Regions from separate parts of the Homo sapiens genome. Here all the other regions are linked to region 2. Evidence: promoter capture Hi-C in 16 types of primary human blood cells and fetal thymus (Javierre and others, 2016). All regions are on one chromosome and are shown on one strand. The core of a region is centred on a gene start or on the middle of the fragment in contact, and the rest is flanking DNA. Distances in the headings are between cores, read along the strand shown.

What was found. Contacts are between HindIII fragments. The CHiCAGO score rates a contact against its expected background, and 5 or more counts as called.
Region 1: a fragment that was not itself captured here is called in contact with the fragment with the promoter of NDUFC2 in region 2 in 1 of 17 cell types (neutrophils); the score reaches 9.4 in neutrophils.
Region 3: a contact is called between a fragment that was not itself captured here and the fragment with the promoter of NDUFC2 in region 2, in 1 of 17 cell types (neutrophils). The highest score is 5.1, in neutrophils.

Annotation. Positions count from the first base shown.
Region 1 is chr11:78,590,200-78,594,226 of GRCh38, reverse strand. No RefSeq gene overlaps it. Among named protein-coding and RNA genes, the nearest start is that of NARS2, 17 kb to the right of the region's middle. The HindIII fragment of the contact is 7,888 bases long and covers 1-4,027 here.
Region 2 is chr11:78,077,858-78,081,687 of GRCh38, reverse strand. It overlaps NDUFC2 (NADH:ubiquinone oxidoreductase subunit C2), which reads left to right and starts at 1,826. Exons shown (of 3, transcript NM_004549.6): 1 at 1,826-2,109. The coding sequence starts at 1,944. It overlaps NDUFC2-KCTD14 (NDUFC2-KCTD14 readthrough), which reads left to right and starts at 1,826. Exons shown (of 3, transcript NM_001203262.2): 1 at 1,826-2,109. The coding sequence starts at 1,944. LOC105369401 (a long non-coding RNA gene) reads right to left here and starts at 493. Exons shown (of 3, transcript XR_950342.2): 1 at 247-493. RefSeq lists a silencer at 1,654-1,843 and an enhancer at 2,047-2,106. The HindIII fragment of the contact is 4,740 bases long and covers 1-3,416 here.
Region 3 is chr11:78,613,818-78,617,623 of GRCh38, reverse strand. No RefSeq gene overlaps it. Among named protein-coding and RNA genes, the nearest start is that of NARS2, 41 kb to the right of the region's middle. The HindIII fragment of the contact is 1,904 bases long and covers 1,253-3,156 here.

The sequences.
Region 1 (4,027 bases), core at 726-3,225, 510 kb before region 2:
CTCTCCCACTCTCCTAAATGATCCAAATAATTCTTTCATAATCTTTTTCCTCTTTTCAAAACTCTAACATCTACTTTGCCATTCTCTCTCTCTCTCGTGTGTGTGTCTGTCCATCCGTCTTTCTCTACAGAAAACCTTCCTTCCTATTTCATTGTGAAATAGAAGCAAATTAAAGAGGATGTCTCTACAAGTTCCCACTATCATATATACCCCCACATACCCATCAATCTTCATGTGCGCCCATGTCCTCTACCTTCTCTGTGCTAATATAAAGTGCTCATGATGTTATCAGCTAAGGCTAGTCCTCCACTTGAACACTAGATCACACCCCCTTTCACCAATTCAAACTCATCAACACTAGGAATTTTCTTCTGTCTTTCCTGTGTCAAGTTTTCCTCTCTTCTAGATCTTTCCCTTCCGGTTTCTGGTCTAGCAAGTAAGGAGCTTGGAAGTCATCACTCCTGTCTTCACAACAATAAAAAAGCTAAATAAACTGAAAATCAGTTGAAGTAACAGGGCACACTTCTGTCCCCCAAACTGGAGAGACAAATGGGTAAATACAGAGAATCACAACTTACTGGAATAGAAGCCCAGGGGCAGAAAACTCTGCAAGAACGAGTACTGGGGAACGAAAAACCCAAACTATAATAGATGAATTGCTGGAGGCTCTGTGTGGACAAGTTTGAAAGTTAAAAACTCCAGGGCATGTGGCCAGTCATACTGGATTTTACCTCCACTTTCGTGAGTTTTACCTCCAAGAACCCTACCAGGTTCTCAGGGTGAAGATCAGCAAAAAAAAAAAAAACAAAAAAAAAATCCTCATGCTTCTGGCAAGAGGAGGGGAAAAATAGCCATTCGAAATATGCCAAAGTGTCCAGCTCTTCTTAACAAAGCCTGCTCTCAATGGAAACTATGTTATCAGAGGCTAGCTGACTGGATTTTACCAGAGACTAATCACAGGAGAAGGAAAATACCCAACTCCAGCCCCTTTTTGCCAACTAAAGCGGGAAAGAACTGAGAAGCGCTTGTGAAAGGTGCAGCCCAGGAGCACAGGCTCGCTAAAGTCTAAGACCTAATCACAGGTCTATAGAATTCTTCCTCTCTCTCCACACCTCACCACTATATCAACAGGACTTATCTGTATGATAATAAGGGAGTACAACAGAAATAACTGCATGTTATTTCTGAGACCTCCCAAGAAGTCTCTAGGGAAATCCAAAGATAACAGGTGAGACAAAAACAAGGACACCGGAGGAAATTTTTGCCTCTGACTCCCACAGCTACAACAAACAGTAAACACAGCCTAACTTCTAACTAGATAAATAAGATAAATATACAACTTCCCACTGAAGACTTATTTACAGGCCGGGTGTGGTGGCTCACACCTGTAATCCTAGCACTTTGGGAGGCCAAGGAGGGTGGATCACTTGAGGTCAGGAGTTTGAGACCAGCCTGGCCAACATGGTGAAATCCCATCTCTACTAAAAATACAAAAATTAGCCCAGGTGTGATGGCTCGTGCCTGTAGTTCCAGCTACTTGGGAGACTGAGGCTGGAGAATCACCTGAACCCAGGAGGCGGAGGTTGCAGTGTGCCGAGATCACGCCTCTGCGCTTCGGCCTGGGTAACAGACCGAGACTCCATCTCAAAATAAATAAATAAATAAATGAAAATAAAGATGTATTTACCTCAGTTCCTTTTATCCACTACATTGTGTCCAACTTTCAACAAAAAAATTAAAGATAAAGATTAAAAAAAATAAAATTACAAGATAAACTAAAAGACAAAAAAAAAAACACAGTTTGAAGAGACAGAGCAAGCATTAGAATCAGACTCAGATATGGCAGAGATGTTAGAATTATTAGACCAGGAATTTAAAACAATGGTGATTAATATGCTAAGGGCTCTAATGGAAAAATCAGATCTTTCTTATCACCAGACAAACATGCTATTATTTCTCACATATTAAAGAAGTCCGCTTTCATGACCACATTCTTCCACCAGTTACCACCTCAGTTTTTCTGCTCCCCTTACAACAAAACTTCTTGAAAACCCTGTCTCCAATTTCTCTTCTCCCATTCTTTTTTACATACCATTTTTATTATAGAAAAATCTCCAACATGAATAGTACAATGAATTCCTGTGTATGTTACCCAACTTCAATATTTTTCAACATTTTACCAGTCCTATTTCATCTATTCCATCTATACTGTTTTATTTTTTTTCTGAAATATCTAAAACCAAATTCTAGATATCACATTTCACCCATAAATTCTTTAGGATTGTATCTTTAACAGCGAAGAATTTTGTGCATAATTCCTCAATATCAACTAATATTAGGAATTAAAGGACGTCATTACAGATCCTACAGACACTGAAAGAATAATATGAACAATTTTATGCCAAGAAATTTAGCTGCTTAGATAAATTTCTCAAAACATACAACTTACAAAAACTGACGGAAAAAGAAATACAAAATCTGCACAACATCATATTTATTAAACATGTTAAATCTGTAATTCAAAACCGTCTCATAGGCCGAGTGCAGTGGCCCATGCCTATAATCTCAGAACTCTGGAAGACTGAGGAGAGGGGATTGCTTGAGCCCAGAAGTTCAAGACCAGCATGGGGAACATAGCAAGACCTTGTCTCTAAAATAATTAATTAATTTAATTTAATTTAACTTTCTCATGAAGGAAGCTCTAGGCCCACATGACTACACAATGAATTATATTCAAACACTTAAAAAGGAAATAATATCAATCTTAGAGAAACTCAAAAAATAATACTCTGTGCTGTTGAACTATTTTTATGTCTTTAAAAAATATATCTTTTCTCTGTTGACTTAAGTCATAATCCAAGTAAGCATTCATGCATTACATTTGATTGCTATGTGTTTTATTTTTCCTTTAATCCATAATGTCTCCTCTCTTTTTTTTGAGATGGAGTCTCGCTCTGTCGCCCAGGCTGGAGTGCAGTGGCATGATCTTGGCTCACTGTAACCTCCGTCTCCTGGGTTCAAGCGATTCTCCCACCTCAGCCTTGCAAGTAGCTGGAATCACAGGCACGTGCCACCATGCCCAGCTAATTTTTGTATTTTTAGTAGAGATGGGGTATCACCATCTTGGCCAGGCTGGTCTAGAACTCCTGACCTCAAGTGATTCACCGGCCTTGGCCTCACAAAGTGCTGGGATTACAGGCGTGAGCCACCACGCCCAGCCTCTCTTAGCCATTTTCAAGTACACAGTACATTATTATTAGCTGTAGTCACCATTTTTACAATAGATCACCCGAACTTACTTGTGTCTAACTAAAACTTTGTACCTTTTTATCAGCATCTCCCCATTCCTCATAACCAGACCCTGGTAATCACCATTCTACTCTCTGCATCTCAGATTGACTGTTTTTAGAGTCATAAGACCATGCAATATTTGTCTTTCTACGCCTTGCTTATTTCACGTAGCATAATGTTTTCCAGGTTCATTCATGTTGTCACAAATGACAGGATTTCCTTCTTTTAAAGAGCTGAATAGTATTCCATTGTGTGCATGTACATTTTCTTTATCCATTAATCTGTTAATGAACATTTAGATTGATTCCGTGTCTTGGCTATTGTAAATAACGCTTCATTGAACATAGGAGTGCAGATATGTCTTTCATATACTGTTTTCATTTTCTTTGGATATATACTCAGAAGTAGAATTGTTGAAGCATATGATAATAGTTCTATTTTTAATTTTTTGAAGAGGAATCTTCATACTGGTTTTCCATAATGACTGTATTAATTTACATTCCCACCAGCAATGTATAAGAGTTCCTTTTCTCTGTATCCTCTCCAAACTTGTCTTTCATCTTTCTGATAGTAGTTCTTCTAACAGGTGTGAGGTGATATTTAATTAATTTGCATGTCCCTGATGATTAGGAATGTTGAACATTTTTTCATATATATATTGACTATTTTGTGTCTTCTTTAGAGACGTCTCTATTGAGGTACTTTGCCCATTTTAAAATCTGGTTGTTTTTTCGCA
Region 2 (3,830 bases), core at 577-3,076:
GTGAATAATCAGGCAGGCGTCCCTGCAGTGACTAAACACAAGGGAAGACAGTCTTCCCGAGTCCATGACCAGCGCCAGAGTTTTGGGTCCACAGATAAAACGGGTCTCCTCTGTCTCTACCAGACAGGGAAAGGAACCGAAATTAAGGGAAGGGAGAGACTGAAGGGTGGTGCCGAAATTGAAAGGAGAAAGAGGTTGAGGGATAGTGAAAGAGGTTGAAGAAGAGAGTAGAAAGAGGCCACTTACCCGATTTAAAATTGGTGAGATGTTCCTTGGGCTGGTCTGAGGACCCGAGGTCGTAGGTAGATCTTCCTCACGGAGCAAAGAGCGGGAGGACAGGGGATTGATCTCCCAAGGAAGGTCCCCCGATCCAAGTCATAGCACCAAATGTCAAATGCATCCGTGTGAAGAGACCACCAACAGGCTTTGTGTGAGCAACAAGGCTGTTTATTCACTTGGGTGCAAGTGGGCTGAGTCCGAAAAGAGAATCAATGAAGGGAGATGGGGAAGGGGTTGCTTTATAGGATTTAGGTAGGTAATGGAAAATTACAGTAAAAGGTGGTTGTTATCTATTGTTAGCAGGGGAGGGGGTCACAAGGTACATGATGGGGAGATCATAAGACTTATTGTCCAGAAGAAGAATGTCACAAGGATGGTTGATCAGTTAAGGTAGGGCAGGGACCAGTCACAATGGTGGAATGTTTGTTAATCAGTTAAGGCAGGAAGTGGCTGTTTTACTTCTTTTGTGGGTTTTTGGCTGCCCCAGACTTCTTGGCTCCCGCAGGCCATCTGGACGCATATGTGCAAGTCACAGGGGTTACAATGGTTGAGCTTCGGCTGAGAGGCCTGACAGCAGAGACTGGAAAATTGCTTAACAGAATTATAAATTCCTTCTTTCATTACTCAAACCTTTTTTTTTTTCTTTTTGAGACGAAGTTTCGCTCTTGTTGACCAGGCTGGAATGCAATGGTGCGATCTCGGCTCACTGCAACCTCCACCTCCCAGGTTCAAGCGATTCTCCCCCCTCAGCTTCCCGAGCAGCCGATTATGCTGCCTCAGCCTTCCCAGTAGCTGGGACTACAGGCACCCGCCACCACGCCCAGCTAATTTTTTGTATTTTTCGTAGAGATGGGATTTCACCATGTTGGCCAAGCTGGTCTTGAACTCCTGAAGTGATCCGCTCACTTCAGCCTCCCAAAGTGATGGGATTACAGGCGTGAGTGACGGCGCCTGGCCTCATTACTCAAACCTTTAGGGAACACCTCCTCACTCAGCCATGTGTAACGACGTGAAGACCCAGAGGTGAAACATTTTAGGGTGCTGCCTCCGAATCTGAATTTCAACAATAGACTAAAACGATCCAGTCCTGGGCTTCTCTAAATTCTTTTGTTGCTGGCCAGACCTTAATTTTAGGCTTTGGAGGGAGTGTCTATGCGAATGAACGACTGAAAACTCAGAAAACGAAAACTAGCTTTTATGGAATTTCAATTAATTACGTTTATCAAAACTACGCATCATGCCCATTTGTGGGTATTGGATGAAAAGATAAATCTTTCCAGAAGGGGCAGGGGAGGGAGAGGCAATTCTGGTTGGGGAAGTTGGGAGAAAAGAAAATCAGTATCTCCTAGTCTTCGCCCAGTTTGGCTCGTTTGGGGTACTCCTCGACCCCGCGTTACCAGGCCCGTGAATCCCACTCCCACCAGAGAATTAGCGCGGGCGGACGAGCAAAGTGAAACTTAGTAGCCCGGAACTTCGCGTGCCGGGTTCCCGCAGCAACACGTACCGGGAAGCGTTTGGGCGCTGCACCGCGCTGCGCCGTGCCCGTGAGTCCGGCGCGCAGAGGAGGAGGAGAAAGCTGACCGCTTAGGCCGGGGTAGTGGTCGTCGTGGTTTTCCTTGTAGTTCGTGGTCTGAGACCAGGCCTCAAGTGGAAACGGCGTCACCATGATCGCACGGCGGAACCCAGAACCCTTACGGTTTCTGCCGGATGAGGCCCGGAGCCTGCCCCCGCCCAAGCTGACCGACCCGCGGCTCCTCTACATCGGCTTCTTGGGCTACTGCTCCGGCCTGATTGATAACCTAATCCGGCGGAGGCCGATCGCGACGGCTGGTGAGTGCTGCGCGGCCGGGATCGGCTGGGAGGAGAAGGGGTCGTAGGGCTGCAGACTGGCCCGGCCGTAGGCCCCCCTGAGGTGCTCTGCTTTTCCGTGCCTTTTTGCCTAGCTGGCCCCATCTCGCCTTTCCGGGGAGTCCGCGCCCCATTAGCTCTTTAGAATCAAGCAGAGCCAGAGTGTCATTTGGCACTTGAAGAAACTGAGGTGCAGTGAAGCAGGAACTGAGTCTGTGAAGGACCCGAAACTACTCTCCTCAGTTCGTGTTGTGCTGTGTGCGCAAATGAGCCATGACTCCATGCCATGCACTACTCACACTGTGGGCATTATTGATAGCATTTCGGCCTTAAAACACTTTTAGGGATGTATTATTCACAACGAGGAAACCGAGCCTAACAGATTAACAGCAGCTTGCCCAAGGTCATATGGCTATTAAGTAGCAGAGCTTGGTTTTTTTTTTTTTTGACCTCTGAATGGATATTGGACACCAGTGCTTCTCAAACTTAATGTGCATACGAATAGCATAGGTGTCTTGTTAAAATTCGGATTCTGGGCTGCGCGAGGTGGCTCACACCTGTAATCCCAGCGCCTTGGGAGGCCGTGGCGGGCGGATCGCCTGAGCTCAGGAATTCGATACCAGTATGGGCAATAGGGCGAAAACCCGTCCCTACAAAAAAATACAAAAGTTAGCCGGGCGTGGTGGTGCACGCCTGTGGTCCCAGGCTGAGGGAGGCTGAGGCAGGAGGGTCGTTTGAGCCTGGAAGGCAGAGGTTGCAGTAAGCCGAGATTGCACCATTGCACTCCAACCTGTGCAACAAAGTGAGACCCTGTCTCAAAAAAAAAAAAAAAGCGGATCCTGATTCATGAGGTCTGGGGAGGAACTTGATGTTAACAACAAGCGCTCAAACACTGCTGCTGCTGGTCTGAGGACCACGGTTTGAATAGGAGGCTCTAAACCAGTGTGCTGTACTTCCCAGTAGTATGTCACTGGCTTCCTATCAGAGACACTGACTATTCTGATAATAACCACCACAGTAGCTTTGCTAAGCTCTATGGATTTCCAGAGGGAAAAGAGGAGAGGAACTTTGGAAGAGGGGTCTTTGAAGTTAACTTTGATTATCAGGCAGGACTGAGAGACAGACAGCTTTCTAGGCCCGTGGGGCTAGTGGGAGCTAATGGGGGCAAGGACCTCTGAATGGAGGGTGTTTGATGATTGAGTGAGTGTTCAGGTTTAGATAAAACTGCAAGGGAGATTTTAGCAGAGCATGGCAATTTATTTTCTAGGCAGTCAGGAACTTTGTAAGCTTTTGAGAGCTGCAAGGGTGCAGTGATGAGCTCTGTATTTTAAAAAGTCATCTTTGTCAGCAATGTGAGGCGTTGATTGGAGCCAAGAAGCACAATCAGGAAAAAAGCTCAGGCAATGGTTCAGGCAATTAGGAGTCACCACACTTGTACCTCTTTTGCCTTCTTACAGCTGTATGTCATGCCTGAAGGTCAGCTCCCAACCCATCAAATCCCACATTTCCAGTGCTCAAATAGTATTGAAGTCCTATCTCCCTTGGACATAACTCCTCACTTCAGAAAGGAGTCATCTTTGTCCGTTTATGCCTCTGAGGACTCGAGGTTTTCCCTTTTCATCACCACTTCATATTTGCCCAAGACTGTCACTTGGTGTAATGAAAAGAGCTCCACTTTGGAACTAAACAAACTTGCTCACTAG
Region 3 (3,806 bases), core at 955-3,454, 540 kb before region 2:
TATGTTGCCCAGGCTGGTTTCAAACTCCTGGACCCAAGTAATTCTCCCACCTTGGTCCCCTGAGTACTGGGATTATAGGTGTGAGCCACTGTGCCTGGACAAATTACATGGTTTTTACTAAACTCTTTTGATTTCATACTTAGTTTTCTTTCTTATGTTGAAAACCTTGATTTCAAAACACAACATAATTACTTATTTGCTTTATTCTACAATAAACTTAGAGTTTCAAAATGACGATAAGACTACTGAATATCATTTAAGATTTTTATAGCTTTTTTTGTTCTTGTTGTATCAAAACAAAATTGCATCACTTGAAGAAATTTTGTATTGTTAAGGACTGGTATGATTTTTTCTTCATTTAATCTTTTCTTAAGCATGTAAAACATTTACATGGTTTCAAAGTCAAAACTATATAACCTAAATTTACAGAAATCTCACTACTATGCCTATCTTCTACATGCTGTTCTCTCTCTCTTCACATGGAACACCTTAATAGATTTTGGTTTGCTATTTTATTTTATTCTATTTTATTTTATTTTGCAAAAATTGGCATACTAAACCTTGTTTTGTACCTTAATTTTTCCCCCACCTAACAATATATTCTAGAAATCACTCTATATCAATACACAGTGATCTTTTCATCAGTTTTCACGGCTTCCTAGTACTTCATTGTGTGGTTGTACCATCATTTCTTCAACTAGTCCCCTATTAACAAACATTTGAGATATCCCCAATCATTTGTTATTATAAATTAAATCACAATGAAATGCATAAGTTGTATTTTATTTTTGTTGATAATATCTTTGGAATCACACTTCTGGAATCACACTTCCATACTTCTGGAAGTAAGATTGCTGAGTCAAAAGGTAAATGAGGCCAAGCTTGGTGGCTCATGTCTGTGGTCTTAGCACTTTGTGGGGTCAAGGTGGGAGGATCACTTGGGGCCAGAGGTTCAGGACCAGCCTGGGGGCCTTGGTGACCCTGTCTCTAAACAACAATAAAAAAGTAAATGAATTTTGCTAGTATGTTGCCAAATTCCATTCCAAAGTTGTGTCATTCACAATTCTCCCAGAAATGTGTTAGAGTGCCAGAGTGCCTAATTCCCATACAGCCTTCCCAATAGACTATGTTGTCAAAATTCTGGATGTTTACCAATCTGATAAATGAAAACTGATAAATCAACAACATAAGCAAGTTTTAATTTGTATATCTCATGACTGAGGTTAAGCAAGTTTTCACATATGGAAAAGCTTTTGTTTCTGTAAAATGTATGTTTCTATCTTTTGTCCACTTTTCTAAATAATTGTCCTTTTTTCTCAATTTTTAAAATATTTAGGCCTTTATTTGTCGTTTGAGTAGCAAATATTTTCCTAGTTGTCATTTGTCTTTTAACTTTGTTTGCAATGAGTTTTGCTGTGCAAAGGAATTTTTAATATACAAATTATCAATATTTTCTTTCGTTTCTTCTCAATTTTGAGTCACATGAAAATTATCTCACTGAAGTTGTTAATGTGGTAGGAATGCTTAAGCAAACTGTAATTGGCAAATCACTGGAGGCTCCCTGTGTACTAGTTTGAGAGTTAAAACTCTGGGGGCTCAATTTTAGGGAGATCCCCACACTTTTATGAGTTTGTCCTTAGGAACCCCACCAGGTTCTCAGAGAAAAATCCTTTCACGCTTCCACCAGGGGGAGGAAAAAGCAATGATTGTGAAATACACCTACAGCATTCTGTTCTTCTTAACAAAAGCCTTCCCTCAGGGAAATTATTTTCCAGAGCCTTACCTACCCAGAGAATGAAAAATACCCAATTCCAAAACCTTCTAGCCTTCTTGCCCTACCTAAGGGAGGAAAAAGAGCTGAGAAGCACTTGGGAAGGTTATAGCCCTAGGACATAGGCTCAATAAAAGACTAGCAGAATAAGACATAACATTAGAATTATAGAATGCTTCCTCTGTTGTGATGGTTAATATTGAGTGTCAACTTCATTGGATTGAAAGATACAAAGTATTGTTCCTGGGTGTGTCTGTGAGAGTATTGCCAAAGGAGATTAACATTTGAGTGGGTGGACTGGGAGAAGCAGATCCACCCTCAATCTGGATAGGCACCATCTAATCAGCTGCCAGCATGGCTAGGATAAAAGCAGGTAGAAGAAGAATATGGAAGGACTTGACTTTACTGAATCTTCCGGCCTTCCTCTTTCTCCTGTGCTGGATACTTCCTGTCCCTGAACATCGGACTCCAAGTTCTTCAGCTTTTGGACTCTTGGACTTATACCAGTGGTTTGCCAGGGGATCTCGGGCCTTCAGCCACAACTGAAGGTTGCACTGTTGGCTTCCCTACTTTTGAGGTTTTGGGACTTGGACTAGCTTCCTTGCTCCTCAACTTGCAGACCGCCTATTACGGGACTCACCTTGTGATCGTGTGAGTCAATACTCCTTAATAAACTCCCCTTCATACATATATCTATTCTATTAATGCTGACCCTCTAGAGAATCCTAATATACCTCTCCTTACCACCACATCAGTCAGGCTCCTACATAATAACAGGGGATTACAACTGAAATAACTTCAAGGCTCAGGCTGGCTTTGGAAGGAGTCTCTAAAGAAATCCAAAGACAGGCTGGGTACGGTGGCTCATGCCTATAATCCCAGCACTTTGGGAGGCTGAGGCAGGTGGATCACCTGAGGTCAGGAGTTCGAGACTAGCCTGGCCAACATGGCAAAACCCTATCTCTACTAAAAATACAAAAATTATCTGGGCGTGGTGGCGCATGACTGTAACCCCAACTACTTGGGAGGCTGAGTCAGGAGAATTGCTTGAACCCAGGAGGCGGAAGTTGCATTGCGCCAGTGCACTCCAGCCTGAGCAACAGAGTAAGACTCTGTCTCAAAGAAAAAAAAAAGAAAAGAAGGAAAAAAATCCAAAGACAACAGGGAGACAGAAACAAGGACATTAGAGCAAGTTTTAGCCTCTGACACCTACAGCTATGGCAAATAGTAAACCTAACCTAGCTTTTAGCCAGATAAACACAAAACCTCACGATACAAGCCTATTTAACTCAGTTTCTTTTAGTCAATACATCATGTCCAGCTTTGAACAAAAATGGCAAGGCATGCTAGAAAGCAGAAACATAGTCTAAGAGCTAGAACAAGCTTCAGAACCAGACTCAGGTATGACACAAAATTTGGAACTATCAGACAAGAAACTTGAAAGAACTATAATTAATATGCTAAGAGCGCTAATGAAAATGTTACCAACATGTAAAACAGATGGTTATGTAAGCAGAGAAATGGGAACTCTAAAAATAATTCAAAAGGAATCTTTAAAATCAAAAAAATATATAACAGAAATGAAGAATGCCTTTGATGGCTTCACCAGTAGACTGGACACAGATGAGGAAATAATCAATGAACTTAAAGATATGTCAATAAAAACCCCAAAATGAAAAGCAAATTGGAAGCAAGTGGAGGGGGGGAGGAATAGAATGTAATAGCCAAGAAATGTGGGGCAATGACAAATGGTATAACATACATGTAAAGGGAATATCAGAAGGAGAAGAAAGGAACAAAATAATTACTCCAAATGACTAAGAATTTTCCAGAATAATGATAGACACCATACCACAGATCCAAGAAGCCCAGAAAACACCAAGCAGGATATATATCAAGACATTTACACACAGGCATATTATATTGAAACTGCAGAAAATCAAAGACAAAAAGAAAAAAAATTGAGACAGGGTCTCACTGTTTCACTTGGTCACCCAGGTTTAAGTACAGTGGCACAATCATAGTTCACTGCAGC